Regions from separate parts of the Homo sapiens genome. Here regions 1, 2 and 3 are each linked to region 4. The links are contacts of gene promoters, found by promoter capture Hi-C in blood cells and fetal thymus (Javierre and others, 2016). All regions are on one chromosome and are shown on one strand. The core of a region is centred on a gene start or on the middle of the fragment in contact, and the rest is flanking DNA. Distances in the headings are between cores, read along the strand shown. Region 1 overlaps SLC36A1 (solute carrier family 36 member 1). Region 2 overlaps LINC01933 (long intergenic non-protein coding RNA 1933). Region 3 overlaps SLC36A1 (solute carrier family 36 member 1). Region 4 holds the start of ATOX1-AS1 (ATOX1 antisense RNA 1).

What was found. Contacts are between HindIII fragments. The CHiCAGO score rates a contact against its expected background, and 5 or more counts as called.
Region 1: a contact is called between a fragment that was not itself captured here and the fragment with the promoter of ATOX1-AS1 in region 4, in 3 of 17 cell types (M1 macrophages, M0 macrophages and monocytes). The highest score is 8.5, in M1 macrophages.
Region 2: a fragment that was not itself captured here is called in contact with the fragment with the promoter of ATOX1-AS1 in region 4 in 1 of 17 cell types (total CD8 T cells); the score reaches 7.7 in total CD8 T cells.
Region 3: a contact is called between a fragment that was not itself captured here and the fragment with the promoter of ATOX1-AS1 in region 4, in 5 of 17 cell types (M0 macrophages, M2 macrophages, monocytes and 2 more). The highest score is 8.4, in M0 macrophages.

What each region holds. Positions count from the first base shown.
Region 1 is chr5:151,476,013-151,481,148 of GRCh38, reverse strand. It overlaps SLC36A1 (solute carrier family 36 member 1), which reads right to left. Exons shown (of 11, transcript NM_078483.4): 9 at 4,393-4,559; 10 at 1,660-1,829. It also overlaps the pseudogene RNA5SP197. Among named protein-coding and RNA genes, the nearest start is that of SLC36A1, 31 kb to the right of the region's middle. The HindIII fragment of the contact is 1,324 bases long and covers 2,478-3,801 here.
Region 2 is chr5:152,142,633-152,148,112 of GRCh38, reverse strand. All of the region lies in intron 1 of LINC01933 (long intergenic non-protein coding RNA 1933), which reads right to left. Among named protein-coding and RNA genes, the nearest start is that of LINC01933, 190 kb to the right of the region's middle. The HindIII fragment of the contact is 1,089 bases long and covers 3,390-4,478 here.
Region 3 is chr5:151,458,429-151,463,952 of GRCh38, reverse strand. It overlaps SLC36A1 (solute carrier family 36 member 1), which reads right to left. Exons shown (of 11, transcript NM_078483.4): 2 at 5,018-5,165; 3 at 310-400. The coding sequence starts at 5,160. Among named protein-coding and RNA genes, the nearest start is that of SLC36A1, 14 kb to the right of the region's middle. The HindIII fragment of the contact is 1,885 bases long and covers 1,834-3,718 here.
Region 4 is chr5:151,749,943-151,755,792 of GRCh38, reverse strand. It overlaps ATOX1-AS1 (ATOX1 antisense RNA 1), which reads right to left and starts at 2,713. Exons shown (of 4, transcript XR_007059008.1): 1 at 2,484-2,713; 2 at 1,671-2,120. It overlaps ATOX1 (antioxidant 1 copper chaperone), which reads left to right. Exons shown (of 4, transcript NM_004045.4): 2 at 4,014-4,089. The HindIII fragment of the contact is 3,507 bases long and covers 578-4,084 here.

The DNA of each region.
Region 1 (5,136 bases), core at 1,890-4,389, 280 kb after region 4:
AAAATCCAAGAGGCATCTAAGGATAACATGAGGTCTGTGAATCAGAGACTGCTGTCTCCTGCAGGGTGCTGCAGAAATAAACCTGGCAGGAAGTGTGACATATGCTACAGGGAGGCTGAGCCAGGCTGGAGGGGAAAATTGGGCAGGGAGAGGAGTCAGGCTCCTGTCACTGCCCCAGCTCAATAGGCAGGGTGGAGGAGCTGTTTAGTCAGGAAGGCACATTTTACCTACAGAGACCTACTTTTTCCGGAGGGAGCACTTTGGATAAAAGCAAATTATTTGAACTAACCACACTCTTTCTTCCAGTGCCCTTTAGATTTAAGAATTGGGCCCTCAGAGTTTACATTATAAATACCATACACGTGAAAGCTGTCTCCTCAAGCACTTAGAGCTACTCCATCCACGGTGGAAACATACACTTTGGAATCAAAGCATGGAGAGTTACTGGCACAAGATAGGATTAAAATTTACAGTCCAAGCATCCCATCTTAGCAGCACACATTAAGGCAATCTATTAGAAAAGCAGGATACATCATGTTCCTTCTTTTTCAGTCGCTGTGGGAACAGCAGCTGGCTTTCAACAGCCCTGGCCCCTGGATTAGCTGCTGCGTGGGCTGTTTCTATATAGGCTGGTCTAGGAGAGGGCCTGAAGGAGTGACTAAGAGCAAATGCTAGACAACTTTCCCATCTTTCATCCTTAAAACATTCAACCCTAATTAGAATTTAAAAAGTCATATGGATCTATCTTTATCCCAAAGACAGAGGCTCAGACTGAATAATTTAAGAAAATTCTCAGGGAAGTCTCAACATAATAAGCAAAGAGGTTCTTGTTCAAAAATAATAAAACCTAAAAAGAGAAAAAAAAGCCAAATAGAGCCAAAAAGAGGAATCTATGCTTTTAAGCATTTGAATTTGGAAAACAATTGCAAATCTCTTAGAAACTTAAATTAGCTATTATCAACCGATTTGCTCAGGGGTTCTCTAGTCTACCAACTCACAGAAGCTACAAAAAAAATTTACTTTTATTTTCTAAATGTCACCAGTTTTCAACCACAGCAAACAGAAGGGTATCCTGTCTTTTAACTTACACTCCTGGGAATGGGGTTGAGAGAAGAAGAATAAAACACAAGTGATCAATCAAATACCTAGGTTAATCAATAGAAATTTTCTGAAACATATTTAGTAAGACTGACATTAAAAAATGTCTAGAATACTATCATAAAGCCTCTAAAGGAAATCTAAGGAGCAACTTGTCACAGTGGAAAAACAACTATTTGAAAAAGCAAATAAGTACCCTTCATCAGAGTAACTTATACTCATTACAGATATGGGTTAAATGGCTTTCAGACCTTTACCTTATTTAATATGGGATAGTAATCGCATGTCTTTACTCTGAATGATAACCACCTCCACAGCATTTCATACCCTATCTATACATAAACCACTGTCCTCATTCCCATGTTCTTTACAGTACATATGTAATTAATTCACTTCCCCATCTGGAGGTGCCTCAACTCTGAAAGTGAGGCCATGGGCCAGGTTCTCTGTCACAAACATAGCCAGCTTCACTACAACACACATTGTCTTTTCTCATGAAAGCCTGCAGACTGGGTGCCCTTTAGGGAAAAACAAGCAAGGCAATTATCATCTTCTACTCACATGTCAGGCAGACCAGCACTGTGCGCACAAACAGGTCCACCACTAACTCACAGTGCTCGGGCGCTCGGGACACAAAGAAGGGGATGATGATCTCAGCCGGGACGTAGAACTGGAGTGCGTAGGTGAAAAAGATCCCGATGGAGTACAGCAGCTTAACTGACTGGTACAACCTGCCGAAACAGACAGGAGACATTCCAAGCCTGCTCAGCACACTTATACATCATCAGCAAGAGTGCAAAATGGTCCCATTGCGATTTGTTGACACTTATCAAGGATACAAACCCACATGTCCTTCGGACCCAGCAATTTCATGTCTAGAAATTTACCTCACAGATATCCTCACACACATACACAAAAGCTTATATTCAAAATATCTCACTGCAGCATTATTTAAGAAGGAAAGACTGAAAACAATTTAAATGTTAACCAGTGGGAACTCGATAGGTAAATCGTGGTGCCCCCGTATAGCTTTTAACAAAGTATGAGGCAGAACTCTAGGTGTGATGGTGTGATATGAAACTATCCCCATGATATATCACTCTATCACATGATATAGCATATCACTATCATGGGGACAGTTTTATATCACTTTTTTTAAGTGAAAAAAGCATGAAGCAATACAGTACCTACAGAGTGCTACAATTTGTCTTAAAAAAGAAAAAAGAGGAGGAAAAAACACACACTCACCCCACATGACAATCATACACTAAACATCTCAAAACAAACAAACAAACAAAAAAGAAACTGGGAATATGGTTGCCTCTGAAATGGGAAATTGTAAAATTGGGAACTAGAGTGGAGGGCGCGGGGTGGAAGCTTAATGCTCTCTATATACCTTTTGAAAATCTCAATCTTTGCCATGGGCATACAGGTGTACATGCCTTCAAAAATAAAAACAAAATTGCAATTAAAATGTCACAAGCCTATTTATATCTGTCCCATCCAAGTCAGTGTCCCTAGAATTAGATGAAGACACTGCAGGACCAAGAGGCCAGAGCAGAATTCCATCTTTCCATACCACTATGGCTCTCTTCCTACTACTGCTTCAAGTGTAGCTTCCAAAAATGACGTAACTCACCACAGGATATCCCTATTTTATTACTCCAGTGCCTTGACTGCACAGAGTAGGAAAACAGTCTGTGATCAACTTACAGATCTGACCTGGTCATTAAAAGGAAAGGTCTCTGTCCCTAAGCAAAGCTCCACCTTAAACCAGACCCTCATGTGTTAAACAGCAAGAAACATTTGTCCTCCCTTGTCGGAAATCTATTTAAATGTGCTAATACAGACTGTGTATATGTGCCTTGAGTTTCTCTGTGGTTGAATTTAAAATCTAGAAGATGTTCTTATGCTATAAGCAGGAGAACAACCTTGTAAAGACTGAGTCTGGTAAAAGGTCATACTTGCTCCATGAATAGATAATAAAAACTCTTGGGAAAAATCATCTGGTGGCTCTATCATTAAACTCAAAGCAGCCCCAAAGCCTCTGGAGAGCTGTGAAGTCTGGACTTAGGAGAGTGACACCTGCAGGGATAGCCAAATAAATTATACCCAAATGGAGGCAGAAGAGTTACAGCAGCTGGGTTTGGGGTGTTAGGAAAGAAGACAGATTCTCCTCTATGGCTTCGGATCATGTGGGCTGCTTCTGTTGCTCCCGATCCATTTATCTTCCAGGGAAAGGTGACACAGTTACACCAAGCTACCACCTGCCTCTTCCTTCTTGGAAGGGCAGAAACATTTGGAAATTTAAAAGTAGACACAAGATGGATATGCCAATTACCCTGATTTGATAATTACACATTGTACATATGTATCCAAATGTCACACATACTGCATCCATATATATAATTGGTATGCCTCACGAGTTAAAATCAACTGAAAAAGAATATAAAAAAATAAAAAGCGAATCCAGGTCTATAGCCATACCATTCTGAATGTGCTCAATTTCACCTGATCTTGGAAGCTAAGCAGGGTCAAGCCTGGTTCGTACTTGAACGGGAAAGCCCCTGGAAATACTGAGTGCTGTTGTCTTAAAAAATACAATAAAATAAAACAATACAAAACAAAATAAAAAGCACACCCAGGCAGATCAGCCAGCCTAGACTGAAAGCTGATTCTGATCCGCAGAGCACTCAACAAGCTTCTCAGTGTCTGCTAACAGCTGCTCTCCACCATGAGATGATTCATCTTCAAAACAGGATGGTTGCTCTGCACATGCCCTGGGACATTCACCCTTTCAGGAAGCATTTCAAAATGGCTCACTATTTCCCTATAATACATTCACCAATGCAAGGGAGGTACAAAAGGACTCCCAACAATCCCCGGCTCACAGTGAGATGCTCCCATCTGCATATCAAGCCTGTTACTACCAAGGGAGAGGCACAACCGATGCTGGGAATCAAATGCAGGTTTGCCCTCCCATCTCCCTGTCTATTTGGAATGGTTTACCATGAATGGACTAGATACTCGGTCCTTCTGAGCTTAGGAATTCCAAGGAGAAATGGCTTACCCATCGGCTGATCAGCACCAATGGCTTCAGCAGAAGGCTCTACATGAATTCCCCAAACAGAATGCAGTCCAGGGCAGCCAGTGAGGGCTGGCAGTGGCAGGGGATGGTGGGCTAGAGTGAAGTGGGCTGGTTTAAGAGATAAGTAAGAGGGAGAATCCACACTGTGACCCATTAGTTTTTAAAAATATCCAGTGCTCCTAGGTTTCCATCCTCCCTCCACGTACCAGCAGTTGGGCAGGTTGAGGGTTATGCTGCCTTGGATATTAGCTCCAAATTGCAGGTACCCCAGACACCCCAGGCTGATGTAGAGGATGGTGACGATGACCATGCCCAGGTACAGGATGAGTGGGAACTTCCGAGGATCCTTCATTTTGTTTTCCAGGGGCAGAACCTATGAGAGAGTAGTGAGAGAGGAGAGAAAGTGCAGAAAAAAGAAAAGTTAATGGCCAAGAAAAAAAAAAACCTCAGAAAAAAAGTAACTCTTTTATCCCCAGAATTCTCCAGAAGCACATCTGCTCTTTAAATAAAGTTATTTCATCAGACGTTATGCTCTTGGGACTAGAAGGGACTCTGCAGCCCACTGCCTAGCTAGGAAGTCCTAAAAGTAAGGGTGGACAGGACACGAGCCCAGGACTCCTGGCTCAGGCCAGTGCTCTGTCCTCCTGCTGCAGGATCCCTGCAGGCTGGGAATGTCCCTTGCCCTGTGAGTGAGGCCACATGGCAACCAGAAGGCCCTCTCATGTCATGCCCACCTGGCATCTAACCTGAGATCACAGCTTCCTGCTAACCTGTCTAAAGAATGCAAAATATAGGTCAGGGAAAACTGCCACTCTAGCTCAACAGGGGCAAGCACTAGCAGTGACAAGTTAAACCTCCAAGTGAGAGAAACTGCAGTGCGAAAGAAAGCATGACTTCGTAGAGGATCTCAAGACATGGGTGCTTAACAATGCCCAGTTTCCAGACTCCTA
Region 2 (5,480 bases), core at 2,685-5,184, 390 kb before region 4:
ATCCAGCCTAGTGAATAGCAGAGGCAGGATTCTCAGCTAAGACATCTGACTTCAATGCTAGTGCTTCTCCTCTACTTAGGCTGCCTCCGAAGACCTGGGATCTTCTGAAGGGTGAAGTGCACACCAGTGGAAGGTATCTTTCTTTTGGGGAAGCAGATTCTCCTCACCTTTTCTCTGTTCTCAAAGCTTGCCATATGCTTACACCACAGCCATTGGTCAAGCTTGGCAACTACAATGGCCTATTGACCATAGGGATTGGTCTAAGAAATGGGTATGTAACCTAAAATAATCCAATTCAAATTAATCTCTGTAAGTTTCCAGACCTGAGTTCAGAAATAAGCACTGCGTAATAGTCAGGGCAGTAGATGCCCCAACATCCATTCATCCCCAGATCATTTTTCTAAGTCAATGATGGTATTCTCATCCCTCTTATCAGGAATTGAGTCAACAGCTGTCATGTGTCCCAGTTTTGGCCAATCAAGGGAAATATGCTACAGGTATGCTGGGAAAGTTTTCTCTTTCCTGAGAAGAAGACACAGACTATCACTGGTTCTACATGTGACACTTGGAACTAGTTCAACCCTTTCATCACCAGCTTAAAGATGAAGCCAGCACTGAGAACAGAAACAGGAAGCAGAAAGACCCAGAGTCCATGAGGACAGTATCCAGCCACTGCCTGAATGTTGCCTAGAGACTGCCCTGCCTCTGAACTTGGAGTTATGTGATGTAATAAACTGTATTTATATTTGTTTGTGCCAGAGTTTTCTGTTAATTGCAAGCAAAAGCTTCTTTTGTGTGTTTTCTGTTAATTGCAGTCAAAAGCTTTCTTTTCCTTTCAGGCCACACACATGACATAAAACTGACCCTGGAGCTTCTGCCCCACATCATCGAAAGCAACTGCAAGAAGCAGAAATGAGACAGGAGGGGAAAGAGATCTGACAGTGTTGAGGTCCCTCGGTTCTGTGACCCTGCTCTGCGCCTCCCTCTGGACTTGAGAAAGCTTGGGTCTTTCCAACTCCATGTCCCACAACAAATTCCCTGTGAGCCCTCAGCAGGGATGTATCAGTCTATTCTCATGCTGCTAATAAAGACATACCAGAGACTGGGAAATTTATAAAGGAAAGAGGTTTAATTGACTCAGAGTTCAACATGGCTGGAGAGGCCTCAGGAAACTTACAATCATGGCAGAAAGGGAAGCAAACATGTCCTTCTTCACACGGCGGCATCAAAAAAAGTATCAAGTAAAAGGGAAAAGCCCCTTATAAAACCCTCATATCTCGTGAGAACTTACTGTCTCAAGAACAGCATGAGGGTAACCTCCCCCGTGATTAAATTACCTCCCGTGGGGTCCCTCCTATGGCACGTGGGGATTATGGGAACCACAATCCAAGATAAGATTTGGGTGGAGACACAGCCAAACCATATCAGATAGGGTCTGCACAACAGCGGAAGGAGCCCTAGTTAAGTGCTGGGAAAGGAAGTTTTAGTCCTGCTCTTACCACCGACTTGCTGAGCAACTCTGGATCAGTCTCTTCACTGGACCTCTTATACCACCTATAAATGAGGAGTTTGATGGAATATCTTTCACGATTAAGAAACGTGTCCCAGTAATTCCACTCCTGTGAATATATCCTACAAGTAAACTCAAATGAACACTGAAAGATGCAGCACAGAGATGCCCGTTGCAGCATTATGTGTAGTAGCAACCTGTCTACCCAAAAGTTGTGTAAATGAGCTACCACATGCGCCAAATCGGGCTCACAGCCTGTTGAGGTATGACTTGTGAGCTAAAAATGGTCTTTACATCTTCAAAGCATTGTTAAAAAGAGAAATAGGACAAGAAAGAGGAGGAAGAAGAGAAAGGGGAGGAGAAATAGGTGGTACAGAGATCCTATGACCAACAAAGCCTACAATATTAGGTATCTGGTCTTTTGCAGAATACATTCGTTGGTCTGTAAGCTATAGTATAAACTTCCTGTGAAATAAACGGGCCATTGAAAACAGAAAAAAAACCCTCATGCGCTGACATGAAAGGAGATCTACTACATATTGTTAAATAAAAAATGCAAGTATCAGAACAGCATGAGTAGTCTGATTACATTTGTGTCAAAATACAGGATGCAAGTTATTTATAATGTATATGCAAATAAAATATCTGAAAGGACACGCAAGAAACTTAACAGTTATTGCCTCTGGGGAAATTAGACTGAAATGAAGGTAGTGATAGGGAGAAAAATCCTTTTATATTTTACTGTATTTTCTTCTCCACTCAGATTTTTACTATAAGCACGTTATGGCTTTCACCACAAAAATGAGCCAGTTGGACAGTACGATCTCCTGGGACACCTTCAGTTCTGAGTCTCTCTAGAATAATAACTTCTAACACTGAGTTACTATTTTTTCCAATTTGCTACTACTATGATAAACACATTCAACTTTTTGCTTCTTTTAATCTTCATAACCACCTCCTGAGGTTATGAACACTTTCTGCCAGATGAGGAGCCTCAGACCCAGAACTGTGATTTTTACCCGAGGATTCGAGGCTCTGTCTCCACTGCCTCAGTTTCAACAGCAACACCATCTGGCCTACCTGAGTGTCTGAGTGAGTCAGAGCGGGTCAGAGTGAGGTTAGCTAAATAAGCAGAAAAGAGCAAAAGATATAACATATGATTTAAAGAAGGCCAGAAAGGTAATATAGCCAAATAATTCTCTTTCTTGAGTCCATTTTAGACTGCTAATGAACAGAAGGCCAGGGTGAGAGGTAAATTTTTCACTTGGAAGTAAAGGAAAAAGGGTAAGTGCTTTTGATCACCCCTCAAATCATATGTAAATGGAGCCTACTCTGTCCATGGGGGAGGCTGTATGACCATGGGTAAACCGAAGGCCCTCTCTGAACCTCACAGCTCTTATTTCTAAAATGGGGAGGTTAGCCTGGATCAGGCAGGGATCATATACTGTTGGGTTACAAAGTGTTTACAAGGCCAAGCTGATCAAGATAATGGATCAGGGTGGAAACTGTAGGGAACTAGAGAATTCTTGACCTATTTAAAGCAGGGCAGAGTCTTTTTTTTACTTATAGATTGCTGCCAAGGGGGAATGCAGACCAGTGTCATCAAATGATCTGGTTTTCAAGAGAAGCCAGAAATTCAAATTTCTAAATGAAAAAAAAAAAATCAAATTTTAAAATTGTGTCATCTCATCCTAACATTGAAAAAAAAAAAAAAAAGAGCACTCTAGTGCCAAAACAAATGCATCCACGCATAGCCTACAGGCCTGCCAATCTGCCTCTAACAGAAAAGGTCATCAGGGACACTTGGAGCTCCAAGTCATTGAGTCCCTGATGCGGGTTGTAAGGGCTGCATTCCCCAAAGGGCAAATTCCATTAAGCTTCCATTTGAAACATCTATCACAACCCTACCTGTTTCCTTTCTCCCAGTTACATCTCCTGCTCACCCCAGCAAATAACAATTGGCAAAATCCAGAAAGTGAAAGTGCCAAGCAAGAGGAGGAATAAAGCATTGACTTCAGCCATCTGTAGCCAGCAACAGGAGATGAAGTACACCCTGAGGAAGTCAAGGCATCCTTTGCTCACATGACTGACTGTCTCTTTCCTGGGGACAATCCCTACAGAAATGGCAGAAAAGTCTCTCTCTCTTTCCCCTCCTGCATTCAAGCAGCCACTTGCCTCCTTTCTTTCCCCTCTGCCAGTATCCTCAGCTTTTTTTCGCCCACACCAGCGATTTCCATGCACGGGAACAACACTCCATCTAGAAGTGACAAGCCCCCACCACCAGCAGACTGTGACGGCCCAGCTTGTTCTTCATTCTGACGTGGCTGCAAGCAACACTAGGCTCCTTGGCGACAACCTCAAGGTGATTGGAATACTGAAAGCCCCAAGATGGGTGTGTTCATGTGCACGTGCACACGTGATAAGAACAGCAATCATTCGAGCTCTTGACAGCCCTCACACTGTAGGAGCAGGAGAAGCAATCCATACAAGGGAAATGGGAAAATAAAAACTGCCATATTCAAGCATCAGCCATGACCCCCTATTGCATGCAGAATAAAGCCAAATTCCTGCATTCAAGGCCACCTACCTCCCAGTAGCTTTTCCAGTCTCATCTTGAACCACACTGTCTCTAGAAAGCTATACATCAGTTACTTAAATATTTTCCCTAAACTCTCCCACCTCCCAGTTTGCTCACTCTAGCTAGAAGGTGCTTCCATTTGGAAAGAGGTAGATTTTTATGTTTAATGAAAAAAAAAAACTTAGGAAATTTTGTTCTAGCAGTTCCATTACAGAACCACCAAAAATAATTTCCAACTAATACCACTAGGCAATCATGGAACTAATGGTAAATATTATTTATTGAGCACCTACTATGTGCCAGATACTATACTGAATGCTTTATCTGCCTTACGTTATTTCACTCTCACAACCACTCTATTAGATGAGAACACAGAGGCACATAAAAGCTTAAAGGATACCCTATCCAATATCACACAGCCAACGCATGGCAAAGCCAGGAGTCAAGCCCAGGACCTCTGTCTCCAGAGCTTTCAGCCTCACCACTGGGATATATTGTCTTTCTATGGGAAGATGCGTATCGAGGAAAGGGAAATGAAACAGGATGGGGTAGTCTGAGTTTTAGTCCCTGCTGGGTCTTTGTCACTTTGGACAGGTCATTTCACCACTCTAAGCCTCTGTTTGGCCCTTCTCTAAAATCAGAGTCTAAATATAAGACCCAAAGGATGCGGTTTGTGATGCCATATACAAGTAATTTCATCCAGATTTATTACAAAAGAGATAAGGGGAAAAAGAATAGCACAACTGAGCTTAAGGGAATAGAATGTTTGGGGAACATAACCAAAATGGGGTGGCAAACAGAGATGTGGATAAGTTAAGCCACGGAATGATCTAAAAGTACACTTCTCTGAGACAGCCTTTGGAGAGGCCTGTTGTGACTGAAGGGACCCTGGGTACTCTACTCAGAAGGTTTAACTCCAGGCTGAAGCTCTCAGCCCCTGGGTGAGGGTCCAGATAAGCATCACTGCAGATTCTCCAGTGTCCAGCAGAGGGCACCCACGTCCACCTACTCAGCTGCTCAGAGAGACTTGGCAATCTGGCTTCAGACATCCCCTTACAAGTTACTTGTCTATCCTGCCTTGTTTCCCCTGATCCATTTACCAATGGGACTGGAATAAACCAAGGTATGGGAATAGGCCATTTAGAAGCTAAATTTGCTCCTATATGCCTCTGAATTTCCAAGAAACATGTTTAAAAGATGACGAGGCTGTGCAGCGGTCCCGTTCCTCCCCTGCCATTCTTCTTTGTTCCTCGGCCTCTCCAAGCAGAGTCCAGGAGATAAGAGAATCTGCCTGGCTGGCACTCTTGCTGCAGCTTCTCTGGTTACTCTCGGGGGATTCCTGATTTTGTTGAGAAGGGTTTCTCTTTATCAAATCACAGGCCTCCTCCGAAA
Region 3 (5,524 bases), core at 1,527-4,026, 290 kb after region 4:
AGTTCATATTATTGACAGAAACTGCTCGAGCCATCTCAGTACATCCTCTCCACCATGAAGTAAGCTCCATGAGGGCAGGAATATTTAATTCACTGATGTATTCTAAGAGCTTAGAACAGTGCCTAACGCACAGAACACTCTCAATAAATATCTTTAAGTGAATGAATGTCTGAATTCCGCTTTTTGTCAACTGATTTTTTTAAAATGCTTCTCTATTTAAAATGTTTTAAAGCAAGTACATTTTAACAACAACAAAAAGCTACCTCCTAAAATTTGTCACCACTCCTCTCCACTGATGCAGACCCTTACCACGATGCCTGCATTTTTCACCGCCAGAGGGAGTCCCAGGAGTCCTGTGCCAATGTTGCCTTTTAACAGGTGGATCAAGGTCTGGAACCATCTGAAGTGGAAGACAGCCAAGGAAATGATAACCATGACAGTTAACTTTTATTAGGATCTCAGTGCTTATATGCATTATCTTATTTTATTTCCACAACAACCCTGTAAGATTTTATCTTATAGATGATGAAGCAGTTTGCTCAAGGTCACATACCTAGTAAAGGGCTGGGGCAGGATTCAAATTTGGGCAGTCTGACTCCAGAGCTCCCCCTCTTATCCACTGTGCTGTAAGTCTCCACTCTCTGACATTTCTGAGAATCCCTTCTCTCAGAGATTAGACCAGAGGGGTGCTCCAACTCTCTTCAGACACTCTATCCTTTCCAAGTGTATTTGGGTCTGGTTCTAACCACTGAACTGACCACTGTAAAGGCTCAGACCTGGCCAGGCACAGTGGCTCATGCCTATAATCCCACTACTTTGGGAGGCCGAAGCGGTGGATCACCTGAGGTCAGGAGTTCGAGACCAGCCTGGCCAACAAGGCGAAACCCCGTCTCTACTAAAAATACAGAAATTAGCCAGGCATAGCGGCATGTGCCTGTAATCCCAGCTTCTCAGGAGGTTAAGGTAGGAGAATTGCTTGAACCCGGGAGGCAGAGGTTGCAGTGAGTTAAGATCGTGCCACTGTACTCCAGCCTAGGCAATAGAGGGAGACTCCATCTCAAAAAAAAAAAAAGACTCAGATCCCAAAACTGCAACAGAGGATGACAAACCAAACAATGACGGACAAACACTGGTAAGAGAACAGAGGAAATTAAAAAATAATAATAATAATAACAGAAGCCCCAAACCCTGTAACAGAAAGATACAAAGTGAACAGCATAAAAGTCACACCACACCATAAGAGGCCAGAAGTCCCTGATACATTTAGTATTTAAAAAAAAAAAAAAGTCAGGCCAGGTGCAGTGGCTCATGCCTGTAATCCCAGCACTTTGGGAGGCCAAGGCGGGCAGATCATGAGGTCAAGAGATTGAGACTATCCTGGCCAACATGGTGAAACCCCGTCTCTACTAAAAATATAAAAATTAGCTGGGCGTGGTGGCAGGCACCTGTAATCCCAGCTACTCGGGAGGCTGAGGCAGAAGAATCGCTTGAATCCGGGAGGCAGAGGTTGCAGTGAGCCAAGATTGTGCCACTGCACTCCAGCCTGGGTGACAGAGCAAGACTGTCTCAAAAAAAAAAGAAAAAAAAAATCCATTGGTGATCTTGCTCTTTCAATGGATCTTTTACCCATGCAGAATTCCTAACATCATACTTTGGTTGAGTTTACACAGATCTTCCAAATGTTAACATCTTCATTGTATATTAATAATATCAAAAAGTCATATTTGTTAATATCACCACTAATCTCATCAGAAAAGTCTTCAAGTAGAGGGGCTATCAAGCTCATGGTACTGGATACAAGTTGGTTTTTTTTCCTAATTTTGCTTGAAAGCTTGAATTTTATTCTGGGCAACAGATATGTATTATCTATTGTTTTCCTTGAGGTGATGGGCTGATTTCTTTCATTTTCAAGAAAATGTCTTACAAGTACTCAGGTCTGAATGACCTACAGTTTGTTAGTTGTTCTTTCTAGTTCTATGAAAAAAAAAAAAGGCAGCAAGTTTGGTTGACAACTCATATAATCACTCGAGGTCTTTGCCTTAAGACAAGTAACATATTTTGGTACTCATAGAAGTACTTCATGCATACTTCCCATTTTGCCACACAGAATATTAAAGACCTATACTGAAGGGTCTCAAATTTTTAAATATTAGTAATCCTACAGTTTCATCAAAGACATTATTAAGTGCAAAGGGCTTTTTTCTTTGCGCATGTGTGGCAGTGAAAAATACAACGACAACTAGTATAATTTGGTGCCACTGCCTTGATTCGTTCTACAGTGTAATTTTACCCACCATTGCTTCTACATTATAAGTGCAAATATCCACAAGTGAAAAAGCAGATAACATCTTAGTATTATTATGAAGAGAGTTTTAGCCTCATAGACTTCTTGAAATGGTCTTGGGAAGCCCACAAAGTGTGCAGACCACATTTTGCAAATGACTACTCCAGCTCACCTTTAGAGAGCCAGTTTCAGTCTGCTGGTTTCAGTTTGCATGGGGAAGAAGCACGGAGGCTTGATATATATAATGGAACTCAGAGGGGCAACAAGAAGAAAAATCTGCCCAACAGCATAAAATGAGGCTGTCTTCGAAGCAGTCAATAGCTTGGTAACATCAAGTGTTAGTAAATAACCTCACTGAACACACTAAGAAATAATTCACAGGTCAGGCATGGTGCTCATGCCTATAATCCAAGCACTTTGGGAGGCCGAGGCAGGCGGATCACTTGAGCCCAGGTGTTTAAGACTAAGTGGGCAACATAGCAAAACCCTATCTCTACAAAAAAAAAAAAAAAAATACAAAAAGTAGCCAGGAGCATGCCTGTAGTCTCAGCTACTTAGGAAACTAAGGTGGGAGGATCACTTGAGCCCAGGAGATGGAGGTTGCAGTGAGCCATGATTGTGCCAGTGCACTCCAGCCTGGACAACAGAGCAAGACCCTGTCTCAAAAAAATAAAAGGAAGTAACCCATGAAACTCATGGAAGTGTTTGGGGTTCCTATTTGCACCCCCTAACTAGGGGTTTTTGCTGAGCCCTTGACTTCTAGAAGAGCCAGGTGTGTGCATGCATATGTGCAGTAGGTGTAGAAGTACTTCCATGTATTTTGTTCCTTGGCAAACTAGATAAAAGGGTGGGGCAAACCAGAAATATAAAAGGAACCCAGCTCAAAAACTTGTCTCTAACACTTCCGACATATTAAAATATTAATTTAGGTTAAGAAGGTCCTCCAAATCAACCTCTACCTTAATCATACCTGGCATGTTTTCTATATAAATCCTTGCGTGGATCCTATGCCCCAGGCTGGAAGTACTCAACCAGTCCTCTAAGCCCCAGCAAATTACTTTATCTTGTACCACCTGTGATGGGACTGTAATACCTGCCATCAACTACAGATAGGCTTCCCTGGTCACCTACACTGTATCACAACATCAAGGCAGGAAGGGAAACTCGGAACAAAGTATACCCTGGAAAATGTCACAATACAAGCCTGAGGAAGGTATCTTCTGATTTGTTCGATTTCCAAGAAACAAGGACATAATTTTGTCCAAAACCTATGAGCTACTATCCTAAAGTTGCTAGTTGGTAGGTTTTGAGCTTCAGAGATGTCTCTATAAACATAAAAATCCAGACCTCATCTGCTAAATATTGCTTAGACAAGTTGATATCTGAGATCAAAAAGGAGCAAAAACTGCAAAGGAAACTACAGAGAAGGAAGCTTAGAAGTATCTTACGATAACAAGCATGACCTCTGAAGGGAAGCCATCACATGCCATTGGCTGTGTGTGGAGATGCTTCTGCATGGGGGCTGCCAATGCTGATAAGGTTGGAGGAAAGAGGGGCAGGGTGATCCACACTGCTGCCAGCTGTGCTCTAAGCAATCTACCACCAGCTAACTCCCACTGCAGGCTAATGGGGAATCTACAAAAGCATACCCCTGAGAAATAAGCTACAGAAACAGAATCTTAGAGGACTGGTTGAGTACTTCCAGCCTGAGGCATAGAAATCAGCTAGTGGTGGTGACGGGCCAGGAATGTGGACAGACATTCTTCTAGTTCCACCCCAGTTCGCAAGAGAAAATGCCCTGTACCAGCAGACAGTGCAGGCAGAGGGAGCTTCTCCAGTGATGAGCCCAGAAGCTTCCATGGTCCGCTTGGGCAGTCATCAGGAATGGCATAAGTCTAGGACATGAAGGATCTCTCAGTAAGTCACACTCAGTCCACAAGAAAACACAGAAAAGGTAATAGCTAAGCTTGAGGAATAAACAGGACTGCAAAAGCTGAGATGCTGGGACACAGAGAAAAGTCAGAGGTCTGCTGAAATCAGGAGTAGCTGGGAAACTAACTCAATGGAGTAGCAAAACTTCCTCTGAATTTTCTAATTCAAGTGGTGAGCCCCACACAGCCAGCATAGCTTTGTGGTGGAGTCCTCAATTTTTCTTTACATTTGGGGAAAGTGAGACCTGAAGCGGGCCAAACTCAGCCCAAATGAGTCTGGGGTCCCAGTTTCTGGAGACAAGAGATTAAGCCCTCTTTGGAGAATGCAAAGTCTATCTTTCCTTTCCTACCAACCCTGAATTTTTTAAGTGCAGAAGTTAATTCTTCTCTCTTCCCACTTCTTCAGTCAAATGAATACTGATTTGGTGATGGGGCAGAATTCGGGGGGAGACTTTGCAAAGGAAGCTTCCGATTATGCTTGGAAATTATTTGGGGTTCTAGCACAGATGACACACTTTTAAATTAAAAGAATGTCCTCTGTAGAAGCTTTTTTTAAGTCCAAGCTCTCACTTGGCACCAGCCTTGGGGGGCCAACACAGCTGAAAGGAAAAAAGAGTAAGAAACTGCCTAGAGAGTGGCAGCCCAGGAAGGCAAATCTCAGCGCAGTCACTCGCCCAATCTCTTCACTGCTGACCTTCATCTGTAAAGTGGAGGACTGATGAAATTGGGGGGAAAAATAAGTCCAAGGGAGGCTTAGGAACACGAATCCCACCCAGGAGAGGAGAAGGTAACAGCTACTCACGTTGTGCTATTGCTTTGACCAAAGCGCTGGTAGGAGCCCGGGGAGGAGAGGTTGTTGAGGCCTTCCGACGGGCTCTCCTCAGGGCTCACGTCCGTGGAGCTGTAGTCGTGGTAGTCTTCATTCCGAAGTCTCTGCGTGGACATGGCAGCTGGGGGGACAGGGCCAGCATTAAGACCTCCTGCAGCTGGAGCCTTTAGCTCCATATTTGGGGTGGCCTCTGGGGTAGAAGCTGTCATTGTCAGAGTTGCTCACTGTGACAGCTCCACTATGGATTAAGTATGAAAGTGCCTGGTACCAAGGGAAATGGAAAAGTGCAAAGTACACAGAGGCGGGCTGAGTTCACTTGACTTCTGACTCCCATCCTTCCCATTGGTATACGTGGTGCTACACTCATAAATTTCTTAATTTTCCGGAGTACAGCTAGACAAGGCAGAAGTGAGGCACTGCTTGGGAGGAGTGGGGGAAAATGAAAGAGAAGTGCTTCCTGGAATTCCGCATTCCCTATTC
Region 4 (5,850 bases), core at 1,464-3,963:
TGAGATTCTCCTATAAAGAAGTGATTACTCTGTCCATGAAATAGATTTTCCATCACCCTCAAATTTATTTTTGCCCCTCAGAGGTGGAGGAGGAGAGCACTGAACTGTAATGTTTATACCCAGAAGCTGGTTTCTGGCTTCTGACCTTTATACTGTGGGGGATGGGACCTACTCCCTGTAGTCAGCGACAGAAAGTTTCAGGTATCTGTTGACTTTAGGTCCTTGGGCAGCAAAAAACTGTGCTCCCTAAAAATGTGTTTCTAGTTTCAGAGCTTCTGCTGAGAGTCAGGGTTATGAGGGCTGGCGGTGTACTTTGCTTTTCCAGAACCAGCAAGATTTCCCTGGAGCGAAGAAAGCCTAGGTTCATATTCCATACTCAGTAGTTATTTGCCACATGACTGCAAGCTACCTAGTGAACTCTTGGGAACTTCACTTTCCTCCTGAGTGAAATAAGATAAATAGCTCTCTTTCCAGGCTCAGTGAGGACTAACTTAGATACTGTACAAAGATAATTTGACATGTAATAGACAATCAGTAGATTTAGCTCTTATGTTGATCTTGCAAACCCTTCAAAGCTTTGGCTCAGTATATAAGTACAAACCATAGATGAATTGATTTTCTGCTGGTTATCCTAGAGCAAGACTCAGCAAACTTTTTTTTTTACACGGCACCGATAGTAAACATTTTAGTCTTCACAAACCATAGGGTCTCTGGTACAACTACTCAACTCTGCCATTCTAGTGCAAAAGTAAACAAATGAGTTTGGCTGTAGTTTTTTGTTTTTGTGTTTCTTTTTTTTTTTTTTTTTTTTTGGACGGTGTCTCGCTCTCTTGCCAGGCTGGAGTGCAATGGCATGGTCTTGGCTCACTGCAACCTCCGCCTCCTGGGTCAAGCGATTCTCCTGCCTCAGCCTCTTGAGTAGCTGGGACTACAGGCGCATGCCACCACTACCAGCTAATTTTTGTATTTTTAGTAGAGATGGGGTTTCACCATGTTGGCCAGAATGGTCTCGATCTCTTGACCTCGTGATCCTCCCGCCTCAGCCTCCCAAAAATGCTGGGATTACAGGCATGAGCCACCACACCTGGCCCGATTTGGGCTATGTTTTAACAAAACTCTTTGTAAAACAGGTAGTTTGTAGTGTGCCAATCCATGTTCCAGAGCATCATCATTTTTTTTTCCAAAACAATTTTTTTCTTTTAAATTAAATGGAGCCATGATCTCACTGTATTGCCCAGGCTAGTCTCAAACTCCTGGGTTTAAGTGATTTTCCTGCCTCAGCCTCCTAAGTAGCTGGGATTACAGGCACCTGCCACCATGCCTGGCTAATTTTTTTTCTATTTTTAGTAGAGAAACAGGTTTTGCCATGTTGGCCAGACTGGTCTCAAACTTGTGACCTCAGGTGATCTACCTGCCTCAGCCTCCCAAAGTGTTGAGATTATAGGCATGAGCCACATTGCCCAGCCTAAAAAAACTTTTTAATAGAGGAGAGCATCATCTCAGACTGTAATGTGGGGAGGAATGACTTGGGTGTCTTGTTAAAATGAGGATTCTGATTCCGGACTTCTGGGAAGGGACCTGAGATTCTGCATTTCTGACAGGCTCTCAGGTGATGCTCATATTGTTGGGCTGAGGACCACATTTTAAAGACAAGATTTTGTAATACTTACTACAAATCCTTCTTTCCAGAATCTGTTATTGTTGCTGTCTGTGAATAGTCAGGAAACAAGATGAAAAAATCAGAGATGTTTAGAAGAAAGGAAAGACTGACCATTTTCTTTAAGACAGATTTTGCAGATTTGGCCTTAATAAAAGGAGTGGTTTACTAGTCACAAAGGTCAAACAGTCTGCACTGGAAAATCGAGCTGCTTAATTCTTGGTCTTCGTTTCCTCTGTAGAGCACAGTGACAATCCAGACTCAGCGGTGTTTAGAGACTTGGAAAGAGTTTGAGAAGCCACTTAGCCACTTTATTTTCAGGTTTGTAGTTTTGCCTCCCGTTCTCTCCCCAGTAGGTTAAAAATGGGGAGTGGCAGGGCCCGCTCCACATCCACAGAGTCAGTTGAGGCAGGTGTCTGGGAGCTGCACTTTCCACAAGGTCCCCAGATTCTTCCTATGCACACTAAAGTTGAAAAAAATTGAGTTAGCTAATACCCTTTTGGTATAGATTAGGGAACTGGAGCCCTTCTGGAGCAGAGATTTTGCCTGTGGTTTTCTAGCAAGATATATCACTACACCCAGGATTCCAACTGAGGTAATAGACTTCAAATATTTTGAAGTGCTCCATGAAAAATGTAGCCATTGATTTTTGAAGGGAAACAGGAGAGACAAATGGAAGAAATTAATAATCCAATAGCTAACCTTTTACCCAACGGAACCTAGTACTAGGCTCTAATTTCCTTAATGTGTTAGTTATCTATTGCTCCTTAGTAATTATCCCAAAACTTTGTAGTATAAAACAACAAATATATTTATAGTAACTCACACAGTTTCTGAGAGTCAGGAATTTGGGAACAGCTTGGCCTAGTGGCTCCAGCTCAGAGGCTCTCATAAAGCTGCAGTGAGATGTTGGCTGGAGCTGCATTCATCTGAAGGCTTGACTGGAGCTGGAGAATCCACTTCCAACATGTCTCACTCACATGCTTGTTAGCTCGAGGGTTCAATCTCTCACTTTGTGGACCTCTCCTTGTGGTTGCTGGAATTTCTTTGTAATTTAGTAGCTGACTTCCTCTAGTGCAAGTGACCCCAGAAATGGAGCAAGACAGAAGTCACAGTGTCCTTTATGACATTGTGATAGCTTCAGAAGCCACATAACCTCACTTCAAGCCATATTCTATAAGACACACAGACCAACCCGAGACATGTGGAATGGGATTACTCAAGGGCATAAATACCAGAGGCAGAGATCATTGAGGCCATCTTGGATGCTGGCTAACCGTACTTAAAATCCTGTGTTCATCCCATTCACAAATCTAGAGAGGGACTCTTACCCTCAATTTTCAGATGTGGAAACTAAGGCACAGAGAAGTAACATATTGATGATCATGCAACTAGTAGTGCCAGAGCTGGTATCTGAAGCCATATTTATCTGATTTCAGATGGTCTCATTTCCAGAGATTTTAAAATAAAGTATTGGTATAAGTAATCCTTGTGTGAAAGCAAAGCAAAAGATCCAGAAGTTCAAACCAGCCATGTCAATTATCCATTGACTCAAAAATAAGTTTTAAGCACCTACTCTGTCCAGGCACTGTTCCAAGTATTAGGAATCCAGTAGTGAACTGAACAAAACCTCTGTCTTCTGGGAGCTTACCTTCAGACCCTTGATCTGTTAGATATCCTAGAGACTGTAGAATGTAGAGCTTACATGAAGACTAGGAGCCGGGGATCCCTTCCTGCCTGGCCTCCAACCCACTGGGGAACCCAGGCAATCCTTTCTTTCCCTGGACCCAGATGCTGCCTCTGAGAATGCGGCCCTTGGATGAAAGCAGAATCACCTGGGGTAATGAGTAGACATAACAGATTCCCCAGCCCAGACCTGCTGACCAGAACCTGTAGTTTTTGCAAGCTGTAGGTGACTCTAGTGCAGAAAATAATTTTGTGGTTCATAAGTGGGCCCACCAGATCAGCATTGCTCAGAGTATGGGGGCCCATCCCTGTCAGAGTTACTGGTGGCCCTGAGACAAAGCTCATAGCTCAAGAATCAGTGTTTTGAAGGTAGGACTGGGAAAAAGCATTTTAAACTAGATCTCCAGGTGATTCTATTTACTATGTGCCAGACACTGCTAAAGGATTTATAGGGATGATTCCATTGAATACAACTTGTGAGGTAGAAACTCTTAGCTACTCTATAGTTGAAGAGACGGGCTCAGAAACAGGCTTCTGATGAGTCTGATGCCAACCAGGTCCTGCCCAGTCTCTCTGTCTTCTGTCTTGACCCTGAGTGGGCCTGTCTGCTGGCACTGTGTGGGGGTCACTCTACAGGGCTCGGGTCATGGTCCCCCTGTGTTTGTTTCAGAAGCACGAGTTCTCTGTGGACATGACCTGTGGAGGCTGTGCTGAAGCTGTCTCTCGGGTCCTCAATAAGCTTGGAGGTGAGTGAGTGGCCCTGAGTTGGGTGCACTTATGCCATGTTCAGATGCATGCAGATGTTGCAGGAGAGACTTAGGGTTAAGCTGATCATAACAGTAAAACTAAAATATATTGAGTACTTAGCACGTGCCAACTACTCTTGTTATTTTCTTAGTGGCTTATGTGAATCACATCATTTAATCCTCACCACGGCCATTTCAGATAGTTTTTTTTTTACTAGCTCCATGTTAAACAGGAGACAGCTGAAGTTCAGAAACATTAAATAACTTATCTGGGATCACATGGTCAGTAAATGGCAGAGCTGGGATTTAGCCAAATTAACTAGTACTGCCAGGAGTAGCTCTGGAGCCATGGCAGTACTAGTTCATATGTTGGTCATCTCCAGTGTGTACTGCATGACACATCTGAGTGTCATTTTCTATTGAATTTTTTTTTTTTTTTTTTTTTTTGAGACAGAGTTTCGCTCTTCTTGCTCAGCCTGGAGTGCAATGGTGCAATCTCGGCTTGTTGCAACCTCCGCCTCCCAGGTTCAAGCAATTCTCTTGCCTCAGCCTTCCAAGTAGCTGGGATTACAGGCATGCACCACCACGCCTGGCTCATTTTGTATTTTCAGTACAGACGGGGTTTCTCCATGTTGGTCAGGCTGGTCTCGAACCCCTGACCTCAGGTGATCTGCCCGCCTCGGCCTCCCAAAGTGCTGGGATTACAGGCGCGAGCCACCCTACGCAGCCTCTATTAAGGTTTTTTAAATGGGGCTGGGCACGGTGGCTCACACCTGTGATCCCAGCATTTCGGAAGGCTGAGGCGGGCAGATTGCCTGAGCTCAGGAGTTCCCGAGACCAGCCTGGGCAACATGGTAAAATGCCATCTCTACAAAAAATACCAAAAAAATTAGCCAGGCATGGTGTTACATGCCTGTACTCACAGCTAATTTAGGGGGCTGAGGTGGGAAGATCGCTTGAGCCTGGGAGGTTAAGGCCACAGTGAGCCTAGATCGTGCCACTGCACTGCAGTGGGGGCAACAGAGCAAGACCCTGTCTCCAAAAAAAAAAAAAAAAAAAGAAAGAAAAAAAGGAAAGATTTAAAAAAAGGTAAAAATTTTTAAAATTTTGTCTTTTTCTGTTTCTTTACTTCAAAAAAAAAAATTTAAATTAATTTTGAATCACTCACATGCAGATTTTTTTTTTTTTTTTTTTGAGATGAAGTCTCACTCTGTTTGTTGCCCAGGCTGGAGTGCAGTGGCATGATCTCAGCTCATTGCAGCCTCTGCCTCCTGGGTTCAGGCGATTTCCGGTGAATTTTTGTACTTTTCATAGATATGGATTTCACCATGTTGGCCAGGCTGGTCTTGAACTCTTGACCTCAAGTAATCCGCCTGCTTTGGTCTCCCAAAGTGCTAGGGTTACAGGCATGAGCCACCGCACCTGGCCACATGCAGATATTCTTAAAGCACCTCTTTTGAACAATCAGTCTCATCCAGCCTTGTCATTTTACAGCTGGGGAAACTGAGGCCCAGAGAGGACTGGGATCTGGTCCTGGGACTCAGTGAGGTAATAACTGAGTTGTGATCAGAGTTTTGGCAATGCCAGTGCTCAGTCAGCCTTCTAAGATTTTTTCTTTTCTTTTTCTTCCACATGAACTATCACACAATCTTCTAAAATTTTCTTTTTTAAAACCCTAAATAATAATGACATTAAGTTTTCAAATGGCTTCCACATGGACGTGATCTCATTAGCAGTCCTCTGAGCTGTACTTTCCATCTT